Regions from separate parts of the Homo sapiens genome. Here all the other regions are linked to region 3. The links are contacts of gene promoters, found by promoter capture Hi-C in human tissues and cell types (Jung and others, 2019). All regions are on one chromosome and are shown on one strand. Each heading gives the region's core, a stretch centred on a gene start or on the middle of the fragment in contact. The rest is flanking DNA. Distances are from core to core; before and after follow the strand shown.

What was found. The method cuts DNA at HindIII sites, captures the fragments that hold promoters and counts their contacts. A contact is called where the count stands out against the background at its distance.
Region 1: a fragment that was not itself captured here is called in contact with the fragment with the promoter of TKT in region 3 in 1 of the 25 tissues and cell types used here (hippocampus).
Region 2: a fragment that was not itself captured here is called in contact with the fragment with the promoter of TKT in region 3 in 2 of the 25 tissues and cell types used here (dorsolateral prefrontal cortex and thymus).

Annotation. Positions count from the first base shown.
Region 1 is chr3:52,891,037-52,895,093 of GRCh38, forward strand. The region is part of intron 1 of STIMATE-MUSTN1 (STIMATE-MUSTN1 readthrough); the gene reads right to left. All of the region lies in intron 1 of STIMATE (STIM activating enhancer), which reads right to left. Among named protein-coding and RNA genes, the nearest start is that of STIMATE, 4.5 kb to the right of the region's middle. The HindIII fragment of the contact is 5,072 bases long and covers 1-4,057 here.
Region 2 is chr3:53,717,330-53,721,195 of GRCh38, forward strand. It overlaps CACNA1D (calcium voltage-gated channel subunit alpha1 D), which reads left to right. Exons shown (of 48, transcript NM_001128840.3): 10 at 972-1,059; 11 at 2,426-2,452. Among named protein-coding and RNA genes, the nearest start is that of CHDH, 130 kb to the right of the region's middle. RefSeq lists enhancers at 949-1,529, 1,530-2,110. The HindIII fragment of the contact is 4,874 bases long and covers 1-3,866 here.
Region 3 is chr3:53,254,354-53,258,363 of GRCh38, forward strand. TKT (transketolase) reads right to left here and starts at 1,669. Exons shown (of 14, transcript NM_001064.4): 1 at 1,483-1,669. The coding sequence starts at 1,589. RefSeq lists a silencer at 1,266-1,955. The HindIII fragment of the contact is 27,166 bases long and covers 1-4,010 here.

The sequences.
Region 1 (4,057 bases), core at 595-3,094, 360 kb before region 3:
TATTTTTAATGTTATCAACAGTCAAAAAACAATAATGCTTTAAATAAAATTAAATAAAAATAATTATCAAGAAAGAAAATCAGAATTGTTCAGATAGAAAAAAAATGAGGTGAAGTAGCCACAGATACGGAGTAATCAGAAAGTGAACCTGTGTGGAAAGAGGGGTGGAAAAAGCCGGCAGGCACAGAGGAAGTGGCTCAGGGTGTCTGGGGTCCCAGGGACCCGGCTTACATTTCAGTTCTGCACTTACTAACCAGGAGCCCTTGTACAAGGCACTTCACCTGCTCACCGACCGCTTCTGTACAGGGTTCCTGTGAGGGGGGTTGGCATGCTGGGAACTCAGTGAAGAGTAGGCTGCAGAAAAGAGGCCGGCTCCAGGGGCCAGCGCCACCACCTACTACCATGGGCCCTGGGCAAAGAAAAGCCAGCGACTTGAAGCAGGTTCATCACCTGGAAGTGGGGCAGCCCCAGGCACCCACTGCCCTCTCTCTCAGAGCCCACATGAGGGCCCTGCCGGTAAAAACACAAGAAAGATTAGGTCAAGGAAGATTATTTTGGCCACGAAAGCCACCTTGTTTTGGCGCATGCTAATCTGGATTCACACTCACTGTGCTGGCTGGGCTAAAGGTGCTTTTCTTTCTTTCTTTTTTTTTTCACTGCCATGCACTCTGTGAAGAGGGCTAAAGGTAAAGACATTGTACAAACAAGAAAGAAAGGGGAATGTTTAACCTAATTCAGAAAATAAGTTACTTAAGCACTTGTGAAACATTTTTCAGCCCAACTCATGAATACAATGTAATAACAAGGATGAAGACACACCCCCAAGGAGGGCCTAACATGTGCCTGACACCAACCCAGCTTCCTCAAACACATTCTTTCTCATCTCCATAGCCCCAGAAAAGACAGATTATTACCACATGTTACTGGGGAGAAAACTGAAGCTTTGAGAAATGCAGAAGTTGCTCAGGGGCACCACATGGCAGAGCGAAGCAGACATGGATGCTGGGTCAGGCTGGATCCAGAGCCAGGGATCCTGTTATTTTTAACCACTTGTAAAACCCCTTCAACAAATCTTCATGTTTGTGCAAATATACTAACTGCAAAAGACTTTAAACAGATATTAAAGCAGCAGAAGCATGAGAGGCCCCAACAGGGCAACATGTGGCCAACAGAGGTATTCAAAAGTTTAAAAAAAATGCATTTGGTAAGTTATTCTACAACTCAGATTGTCCCCTAATTCAGACAACTTCCTGTTGTCCTGATTTTATTCGAAATTAATGAAGTTACATGATAAATCAAGCAGCAGATTGCCATTATGGATAAATGCTACCAAATAAATAAACATTTAGAAAACCTGAAAACTTTCTAAAAATGAAAGCTCTGAGCCAGCCAGTATGCTAACATTGGCCACAACACCAGCTTGGCATGAAAAAAGGGGCGTTCTTCCTTTGCCCATGCTGGCACTCCAGAAGGAGGAAAGGACAGCGACACTGATTGAGTTTGTGCTGGGTTCCAGACCCAAAGACAGGCGCCTTCACTCGTGAGCTCCAGCTCCAATTCAGCTGTCACTGTATTCTGTTATTTTACCAGGAGGAGGTGATCACTGGGTGAAAGGCTACTGGGAAACAGAGTATTCACATGATCTCAAAGTATTATCACTGCAGAGATCCCTTATTAATTGCCCAGGGGAAGATGTACCTTTACGAGGGAGAGACTGAGAGGTCTTCCATCCACCATCACCAAGTCATCAACCTTATTAACACTAATAGTGGGGCAGCGTGATGTCACATGCCTCCTGGTGGAATGTACATGAAACATACAGCGCCGCTTATGGCGTGTTCTTGCCATAAAACTGGGTATCTGAATCTAATAACTGCTCCAGACCAAACTCAGGAAAACAGGGGCCAGTGAAACAATTCAAACACCACAAGGAAACACCCAGACAACTCCAGAATGTGGGGCACTCCACACAACAAGCAGCCAGAACTCTTCAAAAAGCCAGAAACATTGAAAAAAAAAAAAAAGTGTGCATGTATGTGTAGGAGGAGGTTCTTCTAGAAACGAAAGTGACTGAAAACGTAACCAGACACAACGTGTGGACCTTGATTGGATCTTAGCTTTTAAAAACTCCAGCTATAAAAGACTTGTGACATTTGGGGAAATGTGACTATGGACTGGATATGAGATGATATCATGGAGTTATTATTAATTCTCTTAAGTATGATGATGAAATTGTGGTTATGTGGGAGATTGTCCTTATTTTGGGGAGACTTAGCTGAAGTATTTAGCAGTAAAGTGTGATGCTGGTCACAATTTACCTTCAAATGGCTCAGCCAAAAAAAAAAAAGCATAAAGAGGTAAAGCAAATGTGACAAAATGTGAACAACTGCTAAATCTAGGTAGAGGGCAGACAGATGTTCAGTGTATTATTTTTCATGTTTTCTACGTTTGACATTTTTAGAGATAAAAACCAGGATGGGGTGGGGAGAGGTGATCGTAGGGAAGGTTGTGCCAACACAAGCCTGTTCACACAGAGCACACAGGGAGGCCGGTTTACCACGGAGAAAACCCCAGAAACTCTCATTTAAGATATCAAAGCTGAGTGGACTGGTTTGTGATTTTTACTTTGGATTGCAGGAAAAAAGTTATCACTTCTCAATGTTAGCAGTGTTTTTGTAAAACATGGACACATTTCTCCCAGCTGGCTAGGCCCCATGTCTATAACAAAAATAGGCAGGCAGATTTATCCAAGCTCTCAAAATGCTTGTTTTATTAAAAACCAATTCTGTCTACACTTCAGCCCAGAACCCTGACTGTGCACGGTGAGGGAGGCTTGAGTTTGCTTTGCATTCACATGTCCTGAGAGCAAACACCCCCAAATGCCAACACACACACTGGCCAACACGACCTTTGGCTGACAGCTGGTTGGCTACCCTGCACTGGAACAGTTTGCTGAGCTCTAGGACTGCTTAGCTCTGTTCTGCTGAGACCCTAGCTGAGCAACTTTGTCAAGTCACAGACTATAGACAAAACCACCAAAACGAGGAATTGCTTAAAACCACCAAAACGAGGAATTGCTTGGCAAAGCCCCCTCGTTTAAAGCGTTTCTTTCTATGCAGATACCTAGCAGACACTTCAGAAAACTCTAAGTGGAAAGTATCTTCATAAGCTTGTCTCTGAGTATGTTCATCTTTCCTTGCGTACACAGGGTACCTTAGCTGGAGCCTCTAGGAAGCCCGCCAACTCAACAAGGCAGTGCTGACACTGGGACATGTGTGTGGGTGGTGCCTGTAACAGTCTGCATGTTTATGCAGCTTGAATAATGGGCTACCATGTATGACCTGGCATATACATTCTCAACTGCCTGGACCAAGAGGGTCTATAAACCCTACATAGTAAGGCAAGAAGTCTATCAAAGCACCAGAATGAGAAATTCTTGCAGAACCAGAATCCTCCCCAGAGACATTAATATATATAAGTAATCTTCCTTCAGGACAAACCTCTCCAGATTAAAAACAAAGAAACAAACAAACAAAAACAAGGCAACGTGTAAGTGGAGAAAAAAGTGATTTTTCTGGATAGAAAAAGGAACATAAAGACAGTGGTCTGAGGGGTCACTGAAATCAGGGAGGTGAAGTAAGGAAAACTACCTCACAGCTTGTCTGCAGAGAAATGGGTTCATTCTACAGTCAGAGCTGGTCCAACAGGAAACAATAGTGTTGGCCATCAGGACTGGGGAAGCGTTCCAGAAGACAGGCAGTGAGCCCATTGCCTCGAGGGCCACGGGTACTCAGAAGGGAAAAGACTGTGATCTCAAAAACAGCCCCTCAAAGGACAACGGCTGTTTAAACTGCTCAGAACAGACTGGTTGGTATTTAAAATGTTTGAAGATAACAGAACTGAGGAAGGATGGAGTGGCCTCACCTTAACACACACTAAGACTTCCCTCCCTCAGGGCTGCGAGGGGGACCCTCGTCAGGGGAGCCTGGCCTTCAACAGATGCCCCTCCTGGCAGCTCCGCCAGACTGAGAAGGACGGAGGACTAATAGCCCAGGAC
Region 2 (3,866 bases), core at 419-2,918, 460 kb after region 3:
TCACCCCTATTCCAGGTGGGTGCAGTGCTGTGTGCCCTCTTTTTGCCCCTGCCCTCCTCCACTGCCTGGGCTCCAGCACGTGTTCGTGATGTTTATGGGGTTGAATCAAGTGGATGAGAAAAGACGCTCGTGCACCAGATGGTGGCCCTGGGTGGACCCTGGACCTCCACACACTAGTGGGCGTGTTTCCACATTTCCTCTACTTCCGCTCAGGATCCTACCATGGAGAAGTGGGATGGGCCCAGAGACCCTAGTCATACTGAGACCAGAGTCAACCTTGCCCTCTGCTCACTGGTTGATAATGATCTTCTTCTTCCACTCGTAACACTATAATTCCTTGGTGCTCTAGTTGTTCTTACCCAGCTTACTGGGTAAGAACTTTCTGTGTATTGGCTTCACAAGCTCAGCAGAACTTCAGCATCAGGTAAAATAGCAAAAAAATAGAGTTCTTAACTCTAAAAAATGTTGTGCATGGTACCTTCATGCACTGCCTTCCCCATTCACAATAGCTCTTCTCCCTCAGTATATTTAAGATGATTGACTCATGAAATGTTAGGGTTATTCACAGATGTTCTATATGCACCTTTTGGGGCAAGCAAAGATGTACCTGTAAAGTACATTTTGGTGGCTTCTCAGTGTGATCCCAGAGATGAGGAGGATAAAGTGGTGCTATACCCAGCCACAGGATTCACTTTGATCCCTTAGCTTCCTTTCTTGGAAATGTCTAGGGGGATAGAATGTCCTCCTCGAGGGGGACTGTGTTTCCTACAGGCCATGGGTGCAGAGACTCGCCTGCAGTGGAGATGCCTGGCTCCTTGGCACTCCCTTAGCCCAGCTGAGGCCCTGAGGGCCCTTTTCACCCTCCTCCTGGGTTCCGGAGGTCTGCCTGGTGGCAGAGGCTCCCACCTGGCCTGCCTCCCAGGCGTGCAGTGTGCCCCGCATGCTCTCTGAAGCCCGTCTTCTCCCCACAGCTAGCATGCCCACCAGCGAGACTGAGTCTGTGAACACAGAGAACGTCAGCGGTGAAGGCGAGAACCGAGGCTGCTGTGGAAGTCTCTGGTGAGTGTGGGGAGCACTTGCCCTCTTTCCCCTCCTGTTGTCTCAGAGAAGCAGGTGGTGAGGAAGACCGCCCAGGCTGCAGCAGAGCCCCGGGCCATCGCCTTGGGTGTGGCGGGTGGGAAGGCTCCTCGTACCCCACGCCACGCTTCCTCCTGTGCCAGGGCTATCCCTCCTGCACACCTCCCCACCCCCCGCCCCCCCGCCCCCCGGCCCAGCATTTCACATGCCTCTTCCTGTAAGTAGAGCCCGTGAAGAATGTGGTGGTTAACCTGGCCACCTGCTGTGTCCATTAGGTGCTGGTGGAGACGGAGAGGCGCGGCCAAGGCGGGGCCCTCTGGGTGTCGGCGGTGGGGGTAAAGGCCTGATTCTCCTTCCAGCCTGGGTTTGGCATTTGTGCTTTTGAAGAAGAGCTTCTGTGGCAGAGTTGCTGACTAGAATGTGCTACGTATTTAAGTTTTCCTTTGCTCATGGGACCTTCCTAACCTCAGGCCTGGCGGTTGGATGACGAGGCCCTGCCTTCTTGGTGCCTGGCACTTTTTCCCTGGAGCCCTGCACCAGCCTCTCCTCATGATGGAAGGCACCATTGCATTAACACTCACTGGCTTTTTTCTAGATGATTTGGGCTGTGGCAGCTGGCGGGGGGGCTGGGGGGGACCAGCAGTGCAGAATGTGCTGGGCACTGTCTGCCGTGGGGGAGCCCTGTGCGGTTTGGTTTTGTTTGCTTCTTGCTGGTATCCTTCAGGTCTTATCTCTGTAAAGTGCAGGTGTCATTTTTAAGAGAACTCAATCTTACTCTTGGCAGAGTTTCATAAAAATGATGTGTTATGGGCAGAATATGCAACCATTTGTGAAGTGATTTTGCCTCCATTCTCTTGCTCTGCCCTCTCTGAGACATCATGAAGCAGACAGAGAATGGGTTTGTCATCCCCACTTTACAGATGAGAATGCTGAGGCCCAAGACCTGCTGCTTTCCCATACTCACCCAGTGGGAGAATGGCAGTGCTGGGACTCCTAGTGCAGTGCTCCCTCTGCGGTAGTAGCAGCAAATGCTGCTGTCGAGATGAGTGGCAGGAGAGACTCTGCTGCCTTCATTTTGGCCCCTGCATCACTGCCTGCTGCCAGGGCCTGCAGGGAATCTGGCCGAGTCTTCCCTGACCTGGGCCTCGAGGGTGCTCAGTCTGCTCCTCTGGCCCTGGCAGCATCCTAATTTCTGCTCTGGCCTTGCCCCTGCTGGCCTGCTGTGGTAACCAGGGGTGCTAAGTCCAGGCTGTATGCATGGCTTTTATGATATCTCAGCTGAAATGATGGGGAGTGTGTGCTCAAGCCCTCGGAACCAGAATCTTAACACTTTTTGTCTTTCTTTCAGTCAAGCCATCTCAAAATCCAAACTCAGGTCAGTATCTTCTTTCTGTTTCTTCGTCAGCCTGTGTGTTGCCTTTGTATGTTCTCACTTCTGAATTTTACGTAGTATTGCTCTGGACTTGAGTTTTCCTCTGTGGATTATAACATTGATACTGAATTGCAGTCAGTCAATTGAATCCTATGAGCCTGGCTTAGGGGGAGATCTTAGGTGCCAAAGATCTCCCTCAAAGTAAACCAATAAGACTCAGTAACGAGTTTTGCCTCCCCATTAATCCTCCTTATCCTCTGAGTCATTTTCCTAAGAGAGCTGCTGCTTGTCACTTTTCTGCTCGAAAGCTTTCCATAGAAAGGGAGTTCAAGAAGTCTTCCAAGGTACTAGCATTTCTTGATGTGCATGCGGGTTACGTGTTCAGTTGGTAAAACTCATTGAACCATATACCTATGATTAGTGTACTTTTTCATCTGAGTGTCATTTTTCAACAAAAACATTTTCCTACTATATATAAACACTAACTTAAAATAGGCAAAGACCTAAATATAAAATATAAAATCATGAACATTCCAGAAAGAAAACAGGAGAAAGTCTTTGTGATCTTGAGTTATGCAAAGGTTTCTTAAGATACAACACCCAGTATACTTTCTGTAACAGAAAACAAACAGATAAATTGGTCTTTGTCAAAATTAAACTTCTGTTCTTCAAAAGAAAAGAAAAAGGTTAGCTTCAGACTTGGAGAAAAATATTTGCAAAGCATATTTGATAAAGGACTGGTATCCCATATATATAAAGATTAATGCATAAAGGAGAGTGTCAATAATAGAAAAACCCAATAAAAAATGGGCAAAATTTTTAATAGGCATTTCACCAGAGAAGAGATGTGGATGGCAGATAAGCACATGAAATGACCATCAGTTGTTACAAAAATGCACATTAAAATCACAGTTAGATACCACTACACATCTATTAGAGTGAATCAGATTTAAATATCTGACAATGACAAGTTCTGACAAGGATGCTGATTGGTGGGAACTTTCATACAGTGTTGATGGACATGTCAAATGACACAGCCGTTAAAAAAATAGTTTGGTAGTTCCTCATAAAGTTTAAACATATATTTACCACGTTTATATTTGGCCCAGCCATCCCACTTCTAAGGTGTTTGTATAAGAGAAATGAAGATATATGCCTACATACAAAGTTGTAACATGAATGTTTGTACCAGTTTTATTCATGCTTACCCCAAGCTGGAAGTAACCCAAAGGTCCATCAAATGTGAATGGGTAGACACACTGTGGTTCACCAGTATGATGGAGTACTAGTTCATGTCTGCTGAGTTATGCATCCTAGGAGAAACCCAGCTGTGAGCGGGACAGTCTTTAGTGTCCTTAGTAGAGTTTTTCCACGCTGGCCAACATGTTAGAAGCTGCTCTTTCCATTGGAACCTGCA
Region 3 (4,010 bases), core at 419-2,918:
GGTAAGACTGACACAAACCCAGGAGAGCTAACAGGTCCAAAGTGTGCAAGGCAGTGGGTGGGGGAAGGGCTTTGAAAGACATCTAATCCCTTCTGAGAACAGGGTGTCTTAGAGGCACAAAGGGTGAATGCGTATCCACCCAGAAAGGTGAACAGATTTACTTCTTAATAATATATCCTGAATGAAATTGGCCAGAAGCCAGAATCTTGTCTGTCTGAAACAGAGCTTGTTTGGGAAGGTCCCGAGAAATCATCCATCACGCAGCCCTCACAACCCTGTCATGAGCCCGGAGCACTGCTGGCACTGTGGCCTCAAAGCAGCCTCCAAGTAGAGCACTGGAGTCCTTGAAACCACCCAGCGTGGTTAAGTGCCATTACTGTCCCCGCTTTACAGAGCGGGAAGCAGGCTCTGAAGTAATTCACTGACTGACCCCCTCACCCACCCCACTGGACACCTCCAGCTGCATGCACGGTGGCCCTCATTAATTATCCCTGTCTCCGCTACAGAGGAGGCTCCTTGGGTGTCCACCTTCTGGGCCAAAAGGGCTGGCCAGGGAAGGATCTTGGGGCCTAGGCACGCCAGCTCCTGCCTGGGAGATACAGCACCTGGTGGCTGGCCCTGCCCCAGGACGTCACTCCCGGCGCTAGGGCCCTGGAACTCCGTCCTTCCGGCGCTCAGCCTTCTCAGTCTCCTTGCCCTCCGCCTCCTCCCGCCCCAGGTCAAATCTTAGACCTCCTTTTCACAATGGATCCCAGGGTTCTGCACCCACGTGCCACCGCCCTCCTCCCCTCTTCCCCCAATCAGCCCCGCCGCTGCCTGGCGTCTCAGCAGCCCCCTGCTCCAAACTCGGACCCAACCCAGGGGTGGCAGGAGACAGGGGTAGGGGAGCGTAGTCTGAGGTGGGGAGAAGGCCGGGCCCCCGAGTCTCCTGCAAGAGGAATTAAAAACAGGGTCTCTAGAGTCGGACTGCTGGGGCTCAAATCAGATCTCCCTGTGTGTAACTTTGGGTAGCTGACTAACTCGGAGCCTCCGTTTCCCCATCTGGAAGGGGGAACACTCCCGGCGGCGCCCACACAGCCAGGTGGTGGAGAGGGTTAAGAGGGCCGCGTTCTGTAGAACAGCAGTAATGGTGGCCTTCCCGGCATCACCCTAGAGGGTACTTGGCGAGTCGCGAGCCCATCCCCCGCGCCACCATGCAGCTGCGCGGCCGGCGATCCGCGTGGGGAAGAGCCGGCCTGAGGCGCACGGAGGACCAGAGGCCCACGCGGCCGAGCCCGGGCGTAGGGCGAGTGTGCGGCGCAGCGGAAGCCGCCTGCAGCCCGGGGCCCTGCGAGGCGCGCGTCTCCGCCCTCCGACGGCGCCCGGGCCACCTTCCTCGTCTAGGCATCTCGCAGCGCGACCCAGAGCCCGCGGCGACTCTGGCCGCCGCAGACGCCCCCCGCCCCGCCCGAGCCGCGTCCCCGGCCGGCGCCGCGCACTCACCCAGAGCCCGCCGCAGTGGTGGCCTGGATGGAGCTGATACGTAGGCGGTTGGCCGTGTCCTTCAAGGCCTGCAGCTTCTGCTGGTCAGGCTTGTGGTAGCTCTCCATGGTGCGGCAGGCGGGGACCGGGCGCACACGCGGACACACAGAGATAGCGGCTGCTCCCGCGGCGACAGGCGGCTGCCGAGGCCGGGCGCGGGGCGGGGGCGCGTTAAGTCGCCGGGCGGGGCGGGGCGGGGATGGGAGAGGCGGGGCAGGGGGAGGAGGCGGGGCTCGGATCACCCCAGGCCTTCAGCCCCGCCCCGCCTGGGGCCGCCTCCTGCCCGCTCCCCTCCCCTAGGCGCTGGGCCGCTGCGGACTGCGAGGTTAGCAGTTAACCACACACACCAATAATAATAACATAACGAACAACTCAGGATTCGAGTCTGGGCTCCTGACTCGAAAGCCTCTCAGTCTCCCTCCTCCACACAGTCCTCCGTGGACTTGTCACGGCGAATCCCATTTTAGAGATGGACAAACTGAGGCTTGGCAAGGGCAATCAAGGTCACAAGGCTGGTGGGTGCCAGGCTTGGCCCCAGCCGACCAACCCCAGGCCCAAGAGACTGCAGGACTTAATTTTGAGACTGAGTTTCGCTGTTGTTGCCCAGGCTGGAGTGCAATGGCATGATCTTGGCTCACCACAACCTCCGCCTCCTGAGTTCAAGCAATTCTCCTGCCTCAGCCTCCCTAGTAGCTGGGATTACAAGCATGCGCCACCACACCTAGCTAATTTTGTATTTTTAGTAGAGACGGGGTTTCTCCATGTTGGTCAGGCTGATCTTGAACTCCCGACCTCAGGTGATCCGCCTCGGCCTCCCAAAGTGCTGGGGTTACAGGGGTGAGCCACCGCACCAGGCCCTATTTCTTTTTTCTAATAATTAAAAAACTTGTTTTTTCTTTGAGACGGGGTCACCCATGGTCACCCAGGCTGGAATGCAGTGGAGTGATTACAGCTGCCTGAAGCCTCAGCCTCCTGGGCTCAAGTGATCCTTCTGCCTCAGCCTCAAAAGTAGCTGGGACCATAGGTACACACTACCACGCCCGGCTAATTTTTGTATGTTTTGTAGAGATGGGGTTTTGCCACTTTACCCAGGCAGGTCTTGAACTCCTAGGCTCAAGCCATCTGCCCTCCTCTGCCTCCCAAAGTGCCGGATTATAGGTATGAGCCACCATGCCCAGCCACTCAGGGCTTTAGAGCCCTGCACAGGGGATGGGGATTATTGAAAATGAGAATAGGATAGTGGTAGCCATGACAATGCCAGGTGATGATAACTGAGAAATTACTAGGGGAAGATCCTTTACAAATTATTAGGGCCTAGAAACACTACTGACTTTTAGGGAGATTATTGGGTTTGCTTCCAGGTCTGTAGGGACAGGGGCACCCACCACTACTGTTATCAGACCCCATGGTTCCCAGAGGTATGAAGCTCCCCAGAGTGGGATTAGGGAGGGGACTTTCATCACAGACACTGTTTCATTCAATCTGCCCACCACACTTGGCCAGTGAGGTACATACTGCCTACAATGCCTATTTTACAGAGGAAGAAGCTCCATTTGACAGAGGAAAGATAAAGGCAAGACCCTCAAACGGATGGCTGGGCAGGGAGCTAAAACCCTGAGAGATCCAAGAGGCACCAGTGGCCGCCCTGTGTCCTCTGTGTCCTCCCTGCATTGCCCATACTCAGAGAGCTCTGGCTCATGAGGCGATTGACTGAATTTGAGTGAGTCCCCCAGCTCGCCTCCAGGTGCTCCTCTGCTGGCCTGACCCCCAGATGCCCAATCAGACCCTAAGTATGGCATCCCATAGCACCTGGCTCCTGCTGGCCCAGCCCGCAGAGGCTGGCCCTATGGTGTCTGGCTGGTGAGGGCTATGGGCTAGGATTGGAGGGGGGCCCCACAGTGTGCCACCCTCAGATGCCTGGCAGGTGCCACCTCTGCCCTCAAGCTGCTCACTGTCTGGAAAAAGGGCAAACCCTTGAAACCCTTTGAAAGCTCTGTGCCTTCCAACTCTGTGGCCCTTAGAGCAGTGGCTCCCTAAGGGAGTGGACTCCATTTCCCCATCTGCCTAATGGGACTCATCCTTATCACTCTGGTCTCTGACAATGGCACAGAACTCACCATGGCTCTGGGGACCTAGGAGTAATGGAAAGAAAATTGTCCCCTCCCCACCACCTGGAGCTCCAGGGACCTCAGGGAGGCTCTCTCTCCTCCTGGTGTTCCACATGAATGGGGCCTGTGATACTATGATATGCATATACAGGCCCCTGGCTTAGAACTGCCCCCAACCCTTGTTATACCACTGGGGTGCTTTAGACCTCAGGAGCAGACCCCAGAAACAGAGTCTCTCAGGCCTTCTCCTACCTTCCTTTCACCTGCTCCTTTCTCTCCCCATGGCAGGATCTTCTCCTGCCGGTCTGTCTTGGAGCTGGCCATAAGTAAGTTCTCTCACCTACCTCGTGTAATTGTAGGTCATTAGACCCCCATGAGAAG